3 separate regions of the Homo sapiens genome follow, and regions 1 and 3 are each linked to region 2. Evidence: promoter capture Hi-C in 16 types of primary human blood cells and fetal thymus (Javierre and others, 2016). All regions are on one chromosome and are shown on one strand. Each heading gives the region's core, a stretch centred on a gene start or on the middle of the fragment in contact. The rest is flanking DNA. Distances are from core to core; before and after follow the strand shown. Region 1 overlaps YKT6 (YKT6 vesicular SNARE protein). Region 2 holds the start of LINC00957 (long intergenic non-protein coding RNA 957). Region 3 has its middle 5.2 kb from the start of GCK.

Evidence for each region. The method cuts DNA at HindIII sites, captures the fragments that hold promoters and counts their contacts. A CHiCAGO score of 5 or more calls a contact.
Region 1: a contact is called between a fragment that was not itself captured here and the fragment with the promoter of LINC00957 in region 2, in 1 of 17 cell types (endothelial precursors). The highest score is 5.9, in endothelial precursors.
Region 3: a fragment that was not itself captured here is called in contact with the fragment with the promoter of LINC00957 in region 2 in 1 of 17 cell types (endothelial precursors); the score reaches 5.5 in endothelial precursors.

What each region holds. Positions count from the first base shown.
Region 1 is chr7:44,210,493-44,214,628 of GRCh38, reverse strand. YKT6 (YKT6 vesicular SNARE protein) reads right to left here. Exons shown (of 7, transcript NM_006555.4): 6 at 3,505-3,606; 7 at 335-2,382. The coding sequence ends at 2,347. Among named protein-coding and RNA genes, the nearest start is that of YKT6, 12 kb to the right of the region's middle. RefSeq lists an enhancer at 1-488. The HindIII fragment of the contact is 2,069 bases long and covers 1,030-3,098 here.
Region 2 is chr7:44,037,094-44,041,011 of GRCh38, reverse strand. LINC00957 (long intergenic non-protein coding RNA 957) reads right to left here and starts at 1,963. Exons shown (of 3, transcript NR_072982.1): 1 at 1,863-1,963; 2 at 650-1,118. It also overlaps the pseudogene RASA4CP. RefSeq lists silencers at 388-497, 588-677. The HindIII fragment of the contact is 32,056 bases long and covers 1-3,918 here.
Region 3 is chr7:44,192,523-44,196,825 of GRCh38, reverse strand. No RefSeq gene overlaps it. Among named protein-coding and RNA genes, the nearest start is that of GCK, 5.2 kb to the right of the region's middle. The HindIII fragment of the contact is 3,272 bases long and covers 1-3,243 here.

The DNA.
Region 1 (4,136 bases), core at 815-3,314, 170 kb before region 2:
AGCTATGAGGCAGCTTTCCTAGGGTGGGTCTCCTGGCTGCAGCTAAGACCAGGCAACAGGATTCAGCAATGACAGGGCTTCTTCTACTCCAGGGCTCCCTCACCTGGTTAACAGCAAAAAAGAAAATACAGTTCCTGCTAGCAAGGTCTATAGAAAGGAGGTGAAGGAGTCAGGCCTGCAGCTACCTCTCCTGGACAGGAGCTGGTCAGGATAACTTGGACCCTTGCATGCGGCAGGCCCACAGGCACACAGCATGAGGCCACTCTCTCCCCCGGGGGAAGGGCTTGGTGAAGAAAGGATTCCCCTGAAGCACAAAGAAAGCACAGGACCACTGTGAAATTTCAAGACAACTTTATCCAGACAGGCGCCTCTCAAATAGAACACAGGGAAGTTAGGCAGCAGTTACTAAAATACAGTCTCGCCAAATGATTTACAACAGAACACAACAGGAGCAGGGGATCTGTGGGTGGGGCTGGGCTGGGCCCTCTATCTCACAGGGCCTGAGTCAAGCCAGCCCGCCCTGCAAGGCAGGGGCTGACCTGCAAGCGGAGATCTCACTTCCTCTTACCCCAAATTCATACCTCCATTTTCCCCGCCCCCATCTCTCCCCAGGGTCCTCAAGTGGGAAAGGGAGAGGTAGCATCCCTCGGATCCAGGCCCACTCCACTCCGTCTCCGGCACCAGTGGGCAGGCTGAGTCTGGGCCTCAAGGGGCCCTGGGCTTAGGGTATCTATGGCAGTAGGAAAATGACATGGACAGGCTCTTCAGGGGTAGGCTAAAGTCCTCTGGCCAGCAGTACCCAGAGAAAATGGGCAGCAGCAGGTAAACCAGCCAGGAGGTGGAGTCCTCTGAACCCACAGCAGACCCCACCCTCCTGCCCAGCCCCTGCCCACATTGGGGGTCAGGACCACTGAGACTCTGGTCAGGACAGTGGGTGCTCTCAGCAGTGTGGCAAGCTCAGAGCAGAGCTCCCAAGGACCATACCACACTGGTTCAAAACCCATAGGTGACACCATCCCAGCAGAAGCTTCCATGGGTGCTGGATCCCAGGGCTGCATCCTGAGCACAGGTGGGCAGACTGGAACATAACACTAGGACCCAAGGGATCCAGAACATTTTAGGCCCATCTCCTGGGCTGCTCCAGCCTGTTGCCATGACTTGGGCAGTGAGTGGGCCTCCTGCCAGGTGGCAGGGCACAGCTTAGACCAAACCCTTGGCCTCCCCCCTCTGCAGCTACCTCTGACCAAGAAGGAACTAGCAAGCCTATGCTGGCAAGACCATAGGTGGGGTGCTGGGAATCCTCGGGGCCGGCTGGCACCCACTCCTGGTGCTCAAGGGAGAGACCCACTTGTTCAGATGCATAGGCCTCAGGCGGTTCAAGGCAGTCTTAGAGCCACAGAGTCAAATAAAAATCAATTTTGAGAGACCACAGCACCTGCTGCTTTGATCGTGATGTTCAAGGCAAGTTGCAAGTCAAGGCAAGTGTCCCAGAGGCCCTGGGCAGCTGAGTGCACCTGTGTTTGATCTTCCCCTGATGATGGACACTCCCAGCTGACCATCCAAACACCAGGAAAACATCCCCCTTTCCTGGGCTCAGTTCCTAGTCTACTTGCTGGTACGAACCCAACCCACACACTCCCCGCCCACAATGCAGCTCCTTCCAAATCCTCCCACAAGCCACCTTTGTGGGACTTGGAAGCTGCTTAGGATGGGCCCTGCCCTCTGCGGGAAGCCAATCCTAGCAGAAAGGTAAGCTAAACAACAGTCTCAGAATCTGAGACCCAGTGACTGTTCCCCCCGCCCCAGGCCTTGGGCCTGAAGTGGGGGCCTGCCTGTGGCCTCTGTGGTGGGCTCACTCCCACCCCCAACAGTGGCCCCAGGAGAGGCTTTCCCAAGAGTCTTCAAACTCCACCCACCCCAGCCCTAGCATCAGGGACTCCCCACCCCCCACTGGAGTGTTAATATCATTAATGTACAAATAAGATCCAAAGATATACCAAAGATCGAGAAACAGCTGGCTCCGACCTCCCTCCCACAGAGCCTTCCCAGGGTTAGCTGAAAAAGAGCCCTTTGGCATCTACAGAAGCCAGTCGGAGTTTATGGTTTCATTTGCCCAAAAATACACCTTTGGGGACCTCAAATTCTTTCCAAGAATCACTACCACACATATGAATTTGAACATTCGCCACCCTTCCACCATCCATTTCTCGCAGGAACTTCAAAATAAAAATGGCCAGTCTGCCCCCACTCTGGCTCCTCGTCTATGGCTGTCTCTTCTTTTCCAGGGGCTGCAGTTCTGATGTGAATGATGGTGCCATTCCAGCATTGGGCCTCTGGCAGGCTGCATCACATGATGGCACAGCATGAGTTTTGTTTCCGGGCCTTGGAAAAAAACAAAGAGGAGCTGAGAAGGAGGACTGACGAAGTAAGGGAAGCCCCAATCCTGGCAGGCGTGGCAGAGGGAGCTCCACAGGACACAGCCAGGCAGAGAAACTAGCACTAGAACAGGGTGGGGGTGGAGGCCTTGAGGGAAGCTGTCCACAAGCAATTCCCATCACCAAGCACAAGGCGGGCCCCGGCTTCCAAAACTAGTCTGGGATCCTTTTTCCTTTCTTTTCTCACACCCCATTAATGCTATCAAAAAGTGAGTAAAATTCCTACAGTTAGGCCAGGTACAAACAAAGGACCAATAATACAAATGGGATTGGCAGAATATCTTAACTTTGCCCCACTCCTGTCTTCACACAATGCTATCTGACCACCACGGTGGTGTTTCTTCCTAGAAGATGGTCCTGAGGACAACAGATGTGGTTCCCACTTGGGATGTGGTTTGTGGGGACCACTGTTGCCACCTTCTCTCTTGCTTTCTGGTCACAGACTATCTTCCTAATCCCACCTAGCCATCTCCCTCCAATGTGCACATGAAAGCAAATGTGTGTGGACAGACCAAGTAAATTTGTCCCTATGACTATCCAACCATGGGCCAACAGTGCCATCTCCACATAGGAAGACATGAGCACTGACCTGAGAGAAAGCGGCAGTCAGCAGCACCCATCCTTGTCAATTAAATATTTTCTGTCAAAGGGAAATTAAAAGCTTAAGAACCTCTTCAGGAAGGCTGAATTGCTTGCATCTTAAAGACTTATGTCTACTCAGCAGAAAGAGGAATAAGATTCAACAGTAAATCTCTGGTGATCAGAACTTGAACCAGCCTTCCTGGACTGGGAGTAGGAGTTCAGAAATCAGCCAGAGCAGCAGAGGGCAGAGCAGAGGCAGGAGTGGAACAAGGCCTCGGCCCGCATCGACTCCAACGGCGCCCAAGTGAACTGCCTCCAACCACCTGGGCCTGAGGCGCTCACCTTAGGCTCTTGCCGCACAAGGAATCATCCACCATGATTCAACAGTCTAAGAAAGACCCGTTCATAGTGGAGAGTGCCAGAAGCAGCAAGCTGCGACTGCTCTCTAGAGAGAACACCCAGGAGGCAGCAGGTGCTGGGTACTCACAGTTTTATAGAAGGCTTTAGACTGTGTTCCCAGCACCTCGGATTTGGACACCAAGTCATCTAGCTTCTCACCTCGCTCTAACAGAGACTCCATGGTGTTGTGCTGGACAAAAAAGAAAAGAGAATCCAGCTCTGTTCAGTACGTGCCCTGACATGAGCCCCTCATATTTCAGTCATGGGGGAAAGTGCCTTACCTGGGTTCCTCTCCAACACACACAAACTTCACCTCTAGGTGTCGAGACTCGGTCCAAGAATAGTTACTGTCCAAGTGGATGGAACAGAACCTGGTGACATTCCCGTGAAATCTAGAAGATCTAACTGGGATGTAGCAGACTTCCCAAAAAGCTGTCCCCAGCACAGGCTTAGATAACCAGCACTCCAGGAAAACTCATATATATATATACACACACATTTATATATACATTTGTGTGTGTGTGTGTGTGTGCACGCACATGTGCGTGTGCATGGAGCTTTGGAAAAAAGAGTAGCTGGGCACTATATGATTGTACTGGGTTGGAGAGTGACCCACACCGCACCCCCCAACCCCAACCGCATCCCAGAAATTAACATCCCCAGAATCTCTGAATGTGACCATATTTAGAAATAGGGTCTTGGCAGATGTAACTAGTTAGG
Region 2 (3,918 bases), core at 714-3,213:
CTGGACCCCAGCAAAGTGGAAGTTAAGGATGTAGGGTGAGGCCGGGGGTAACTCCGGGGGGGTGCGGGGCGCAGCGGCAGCGGGTTGGGATCAGGCCCTGTCAGCATGTGTGTTTGTGCTTCTGCCCACCCGTGTATTGTCCCCTGTGTCCGTGTCCCGGCTGCTGTGAGAGCCACTGTTCCTGTCGTGGCCCTGGCGCTGACCGTGACCTCCTCTGCCAACCCGCCCCGTTCCACGCAGGTGTTCCGGGCTGCACCGCCCGCAGACCGAGGCCGAGGTGCTGGAGCAGAGCGCGCAGACGCTGCGCGCCCACCTGGGGGCCCTGCTGAGCGCGCTCAGCCGCTCGGTTCCCGCGTGCCCCGCCGTGGTGCGCGCCACCTTCCGCCAGCTCTTCCGGCGCGTGCGCGAGCGCTTCCCCGGCGCCCAGCACGAGGTGCGCCCTCCACCCGCTGGGCTAGGCTGGGCCGGGTTGGACTGGGCTGGGGCGAGGGGCGGGCGAAGAGCGGTGGGGAACCAGGGAGCGCTGGGGAGGACCAGGGAGGCTGTGTCCCGGCGAGGGTCAGGGACGGAGCCTAAGGGGAGGGGGCTGCCAGGAGCCCTGGTCTGGGGGACTCCAGCCCGCGCTCTTCCGCACCCCTCCAGAATGTACCGTTCATCGCCGTCACCAGCTTCCTGTGCCTGCGCTTCTTCTCTCCCGCCATCATGTCGCCCAAGCTCTTCCACCTGCGGGAGCGCCACGCGGACGCCCGCACCAGCCGCACCCTGCTCCTGTTGGCCAAGGTGCGGGCCTTGCGGCCACGGGCGGGATGCACAGCTGGGTGTCCTACCGGGGCCCTGGCCTGGACTGCAGAGTGTTCCCTACCGGCTCCGGCGAGGCCACTGGCACGCCCACGTAGGCACTGCACTTCACAGTTTGCAAAGCCTTCCTGTGGCCACCTTGTCCGAGTTCCATCTCATGGATAAGGGAACAGGCCTGCGAGGGGTCGGGGGTTGCCAAGGCCGCCCATCCTGTCGGTGGTGAATCGCGGGACCTTCCAACCCAGGTCTGCTTACTCTCAGGCTGCACCTATGTGCCCGGCACCGGGGTGGGGTATCCAGTGCAGCAGCGTCAGTTAAACCTACAGAGGAAGGCCCAAGTGGTCTCAGTTATCATAAGGCATCAAACTTCATGATCCTCTCCTCCCTGATCCCTAGTGGGGCTGGAGGGGGCCCGTGGGCATGGCCTCTGTCGCCTCTGCCTCCATCGCTACAGCTGAGTAGCAAAGACTTGGGGAGGGGGGGTGGGAGGGGGTGCAGTGGCTAGGCCCCTAACCTAGCAGAACCTGGTCCTTCCTGCTGTCACCTCCAGGCAGTCCAGAACGTGGGCAACATGGACACGCCGGCTTCCAGGGCCAAGGAGGCTTGGATGGAGCCGCTGCAGCCCACCGTGCGCCAGGGCGTGGCGCAGCTGAAGGACTTCATCACCAAGCTCGTGGACATCGAGGAGAAGGACGGTGAGCGCCGCCCTGCACAGACCCGCCCACAGCCTACTGCTGACGTTTGCTCCGCCCTTGAGCCCCACGGCCCCACCCACCGCTGTTTGTTCCTCTCGTGGCCCCACCCACCGCCTGCTGTTGACATTTGCCAGGCCCCCAGGCCATAGACCCACGCACCACTGTTTGTGCTTCCTGTGACCCTGCCCACTGCCTGCTGTTGACGTTTGCCCCACCCCTAGACCCATGGCCTCACCTCCCATCATCTGTGCCTGTTGACATTTGCTCCATCCTTGAGCTCCATAGCCCCGCCGCCACCTGCTACTGACGCGTGTCCCGCCTCCAAGCCCATGGCCCTGCCTTCCTCAGTCCACCTGTCACCCCGCTCACCACCAGCTGTTGATGTTTGCTCCGCCCTTGAGCCCCATGACTACGTCCACTGCCTGCTGTTCAGATTTGCTCAGCCCTTGAGCCCCATGGCCCCGCCCACTGCTCCGCCCCCCCCCCCCAGTCCCGCCCTCATTCCCTGGGCTCTCTATTCCCCTCCCTCCCTGGCCTGGCAGAGCTGGACCTGCAGCGGACGCTGAGTTTGCAGGCGCCACCTGTGAAGGAGGGGCCACTCTTCATCCACAGGACCAAGGGCAAGGGCCCCCTCATGTCCTCCTCCTTCAAGAAGCTCTACTTCTCCCTCACTACCGAGGCCCTCAGCTTCGCGAAGACGCCCAGCTCCAAGGTGGGTAAGGAGGGAGGCCGGCAAGTGGGGCTCTGAGAGGCCGGCAAGTGGGGCACCTTAGAGGCACCTGTCCCCTTCCTTGGAGCCCACTTGAGGTACCCCCGGGGTCAGAGAAGAAAGCCAGGTGTGTGGCATCTGTACTGCTTGTCAGAACCTAGGAGGGCCGGGCACGGTGGCTCACGCCTGTAATCCCAGGACTTTGGGAGGCCAAGGCGGGTGGATCACTTGAGGTTAGGAGTTTGAGACCAGCCTGGCCAACATGGAGAAACCCCGTCTCTACTAAAAATACAAAAAATCAGCCGGGTGTGGTGGTGGGTGCCTGTAGTCCCAGCTACTCGGGAGCCTGAGGCACGGGAATCGCTTGAACCCGGGAGGCAGAAGTTGCAGTGAGCCGAGATCGTGCCACTGCACTCCAACCTGGGCAACAGAGCAAGACTCCGTCTCAAAAAAAAAAATGAATATGGAGGAAGTTGATCCGACCTTACCAGGTTGTTGAGGATTAAATGAGATGATCTCCCTAAGGGTCCTGACCCAGGGCCTGGCAGGTAGTACTATTTAGGCAAATGGTATTATTAAAGATAGTACATCACCTGGGCTGCTAGATGAGTAGGAGGCTAGGGCAAACAGGGGAGGCTTCCTGGAACGGGCAGGAATATAGAAGCATGGAATCTTGGTGTGGGAGGGGATCTCAAAGATCACCTTGTACAGCCCTCTCTGAGTCATGGGTCACCTCTCCTGCAAGCTCTCTTCTCCCAGGAAGGGCTGAGGACATACTTCCTCCATGGACCTGGTGACTGCTTGCTGTACACCTGCCCCTAGTCATGCAGGCTATGGGGATGATCTTCCAGGAGTACCCAGCCTAGCCCTGGGCAGGTGAGAGCAGGCTAGGAGTAGGTGAAGGAGCTCATCACCCACCCTGTTCTCAACCAGCTCAGGGGTCCCACCAGATGAGGGGCCCGCCCCTTCCGACCAAAGACCCCTCAGATGATGATAATTATTTTTTGAGACAGGGTCTTGCTCTGTCACCCAGACTGTAGTGCAGTGGTGCGATCATAGCTGACTGCAGCCTCAAACTCCTGGGCTCAAGCAATCTTCCTGCCTCAGCCTCCTGAGTAGCTGGGACTACAGGCACGTGCCACCAAGCCCAGCTAATTTTCTTTAACATTTTTTTTTTGCAGAGATGGGGTCTTGCTATGCTGCCCAGGCTGTTCTCAAACTCCTGGCCTCAGGCAATCCTCCTGCCCCAGCCTCCCAAAGCACTCAGATGATTATTATACATCTTCCTTGCCAGGGTTGAAAGATTTGACTACATGGGCATTATTTAATTCTGGTCCCATTTTTTTTTTTTTTTTTGAGATGGAGTTTCACTTTTGTTGCCCCGGCCAGAGTGCAATGGTGCGATCTTGGCTCACCGCAACCTCCGCCTCCCGGGTTCAAGCGATTCTCCTGCCTCAGCCTCCCAAGTAGCTGGGATTACAGGCATGCACCACCATGCCCGGCTAATTTTGTATTTTTAGTAGACACGGAGTTTCTCCATGTTTGTCAGGCTGGTCTCGAACTCCCAACCTCAGGTGATCCGCCTTCCTCGGCCTCCCAAAATGCTGGGATTACATGTGTGAGCCACTGCGCCCGGTCAGGATATGACTGTTAGAGCTTGGGACTACAAAAGCAAGTTGGAAAATTAATAAATGCAAAGTCACAAAGCCTTGGCCA
Region 3 (4,303 bases), core at 358-2,857, 160 kb before region 2:
GCTTTAAATAATCTGTGGTGAAAGGAAGTTCCCACCACCTGCCCACTCACTCAGTACCTCTGTCACCAACCCTCTTCCCTGGGTGTTTCCAAGTACAGAGGGTGGAAAGGGCTTTTCCACATTTCCCCTGTTTTGGTAGTAAACATTAGGAACAGCCATTGGCCGTGGCTAGGCTCAGCCACCCACAGATATGGACACAGTAGTCTGACAAGCTGGGTTGCTGGGTGCTATCAGTCCAGGCTCAACTGCTTGCACTGACACCATTTCCCTATAGGAGGCAGGTGAGAGCCATTTCTGAGGAAAGTCTCTGGAGCCCCTCTTCCTTCCACTGAAAGTTGTGCAAAAAGATCAGGAAGACAGCGCTTGGATGGAATAAATTTCAGTGTATCCACTTGACACATTATAGTGGCTGTCCCAAAGTTTACCTTATGCCAAGTACTTTCCATGTGCCACATCATTTAATCCTCACAAAAACAGGGGAAAATATTATTGCCACCCTACAGACATAGAGACTGAGATTCAATTTAAGGAGATGGTTGGTAAGGGACAGAGTTGGGGTTCAGATGTCAACAGTGAAATGCTTAACAAACTGTCATGCAGCCCACTCCTGGCAACTCTTCCTGCTCCTCTCTGGCCTCACTCAGCCTCTACTGTTCCAGGAAGCCTCATTCATAGTCATGTGGTTGCAGACTTCCCAAGCTCACTGTGTTACCAAAAAGCAAGACCTGCCTTCTGCTGCATCGCCCCAGCTGTCACCCAACTTGGATTCAGTCCCAGCACTGACACATCACAAAATCACAAAAGTGAGCAAACCATTACCTCCCTGAGTCTCCTTTTGTTTTTATCTATAAAACTAGAAAAATATTCTTTCCATAGGAATGTTGTTGGAAATAATAAAACATTATATTACAAGCTCTAGTCATTGTTGATGTTTAACAGGTAACAGTGATAATTATTTGTCTTCTCATTAATGAAGAAAAGGATTATTAATCATAGAGGGTGGAAGGCATCTATGGGAAGTAGAGATTTGAAGATAGGCTAAAACCCAAGTAAGGCCTCTAGATTAGATAATAGTATTGTATCTATTTTAATTTCCTGCTTTCCATCACTGTGCCATGGTTATATAAGAGAAGTCTTTGTTTATAGGAAATATACACAAGAATTTAGAAGTAAAGGGACATTGTGTCTGCAACTTACTCTTACAGGGTGTGTGTGTGTGTGTGTGTGTGTGTGTGTGAGAGAGAGAGAGAGACAGAGAGAGAGAGAGACAGAGAGAAAGAGAATGATAAAGCAAATACAGGAATCAGGATGAAGCGTATCTGTTTGTTTGTTTTGCTTTGTGACAGGGTCTTGCTCTGTTGCCCAGGCAGGAGTGCAATGGTGTGATCCCGCTCACTGCAACCTCTGCCTCCCAGGTTCAAGCGATTCTCATGCTTGTATTGTTCTTGCACCTGTTCTGCAAGTACAACATTGTGGGAATGGAAAATGCAGGAAATGGGCAGTAAGGCTATGAACGAAGCCCGCACAGGAGTGTGGGTAGCAGAGTTCTCTAGTCCAGGCTCCCACCTGAGGTGCTGGGACCTAGAAGAAAAGCCTCTCTGCAGACAGAACTGGAGTTAACGCTGTCCACGATAAATGGCCCAGGCCCTGTTAAGTTTGCCCCATTGAGCAAAACAAGTACCCACCCGCCTTTGCAGCCTTGCCTAGCTCACATAAGGTGCCAGCCCTTGCTGTACAGCAGAACCTTTGGGGAGCTGGACAAAAGCCTATCAAGGAGCATACCCCCAGGAAGCCCAGTCCAGGTGGGGAGCCCAGCCACACAATGGCCCTTGCCCCCACACCTCCTCATTCAGTCAGCTAAGGCCATGGCAGCTGAGCTGCCTCCACAGCTCATATAGGAAAAGGGTGTGGAAAGGGGCCACCAATGTGGTCAGGCCTCCATGGCCTGAGTAGGTCACCAAGCCTCAGGTGCACAGACTTGATGTCATCAATCAGGGTCTGTCAGCACACCTAGCCCTCAGGAACACTGCTCCCCACTGCAACCCCACACCAAGGCATCCTGGGCTCCCTCTGGGTTCTCCAGGCCCCAGGGAAGACAGACAGAGTCTGCCACCAAAGGTTTGAGCTCTGCCACTGGCTACGAAGCAATAGGGGATGTCAGAGCAAGGGAGGAACAGGACAGGAGTATACGTGGGCAGGAAGGGATTACAGCCAAGGAAGACAGGAGGCAGGTGCCCTGATTTTGAGGCTGTGCCCCAGCAGGGGCTTCCCAGAAGCTGTATTTGTCCTAAGACACCCCTCTGCAGCTGAGGGGCTAGAGATGGATATGTAGCTGTGTTAGGCCATTCTTGCATTGCTATAAAGAAATACCTGAGACCAGGTAATTTATAAAGAAAAGAGGTTTCATTGGTTCACAGTTCTGCTGGCTTTGCAAGAGGCATGGTGCTGGCATCTGCTCAGCCTTTGAGGAGGCCTCAGGAAACTTACAGTCATGGCGGAAGGCAAAGGGGAAGCAGGCACATCACACAGTGGAAGCAGGAGTGAGAGAGAGAGAGGCACTGGGAGGTGCCACACTTTTAAACAACCAGATCTCGTGTGAACTCAGAGCAAGAGCTGACTCATCACCAAGGGGATGGCCCAAGCCATTCATGAGGGATCCACCCCCATGACTCAGACACCTCCCACCAGGCCCCACCTCCAATATTGGGGATTACAATTCAGATGAGATTTGGTGGGGACACATATCCAAACCATATCAGTTATCAGTAGCCATACTGGATGAATGCCAGGAACTTAGAATTAGGACACATGGTCATTTAGGCAAGTGGCTTGTCCTGTCAATGGTACCCTGATAGTCGTGGGGTTGCCCCGTACAAAAAGCGAGAGGAAGTCTACAGAGCTGTCAAAGAGGGGCAGGTGGAAAGGCCTGCAGAGGAGTCCCCTGCTCCACAACCAGGCGTGCACCTCCCACATCCTCGGGGCTGTAGGCCCCACATGAGAGCAGAAAGAAGGATGCAGAGGAAGGCCAAGAACACAAGGTGTGCCCTTGGAAAGGCTGGGCACACCAAACACAACCTAATAAACAACAGCAATGAGCACACAGGGAAAGTACTCACAGGGAAACCATCATGAACTAGAGGCTGATCCCACACCCTGCCACATGGGGCCCCAGGCCCCAGCCTATCAACCAGTGGTCCTTATTGCCACAGCGATTGGTCTTTGGATAGGCACCTGATGCAAGCTTCAGCCAATCAACAGGCCACTCAGCTGGCCATCAGTAGGCCATCCAATCAGAGCAAAGCCCAGGACTTTCTTCGACTCTTAAGAAAAGAGAAGCAAAGTAACTGGCACAGATTGGAGAGGATCAAGGAACCCCGAGCTGGATACATACAAACTTTGGGTTAACATGGATGATTAAATACATATGTTTATGTGAACCACCTCCCAAATATGCTCCACTATAATGACACAAGACAAAGGGCAGGGGGAGACCAATTGCAAGGTGGCGCAAATGAGAGATGCTACCAAGGGTGGCGGGGGAGAGAGGGGAGCAGTTGTCAAGTTAGGAGGCAACAGGCTGAGGGACAGGGACCAGCAGACGGGGAGGGAGGGGCTGAAGCAGAAGTGTCCAGTGTCTGGAGGGATGGGGCCAGAAAGGCAAGGGGCATCCTGAAGAAGCTATACCTGGGGAGGGCAGCTCTCTCCCCACCTGCTCCCCAATTCATCAGCCAGGAATGCCCCATCCACCCCACCCCAGGGAGGAGGACAGAGGACTTTCGTTTGGGAGCATTGAATGGTTCAGAGATTCTGCAACTCTGCGGTCCCCAACTAAACTGCTCATTGTTTCAAGCAGTCCCTGTTGGGTAAATGTCCCCCATTGTAACCGGACTCGGATTCCACCGCTTGAAAGCCAAATACAAGAGGAGAGGTTTGGTGGGAGGAAAAGTGGTTTTAACTAGAGCCAGCAAACCAAGAAGATGGTGAATTGTTGTTTTAAAGCATTCAATTATCTCAAATTTTAAAATTTATCATAGGATTCTGAAAGGAAAACTTGGTATGGGACATACGTGGGAGCAGTGCAGGGTACAGGGTCTATGTGTCTTGATCCAATGGCTGTCTTGAGTATCACCTATCCTGAGGTCTGGTTGGTGTTATCTTTCCTTCGGCCAGATGGTGGTGGGTGAATTGTTTCGACTCCCCCTAAGTTGGAGGATTCCGCAGGGGTTCCGTGTCTGGTTTTTGTTTCAAGATTAGCCCCTGGAATTCCCAAATAAGCATAGAGTTAGATAAGCGGGCATGGTGC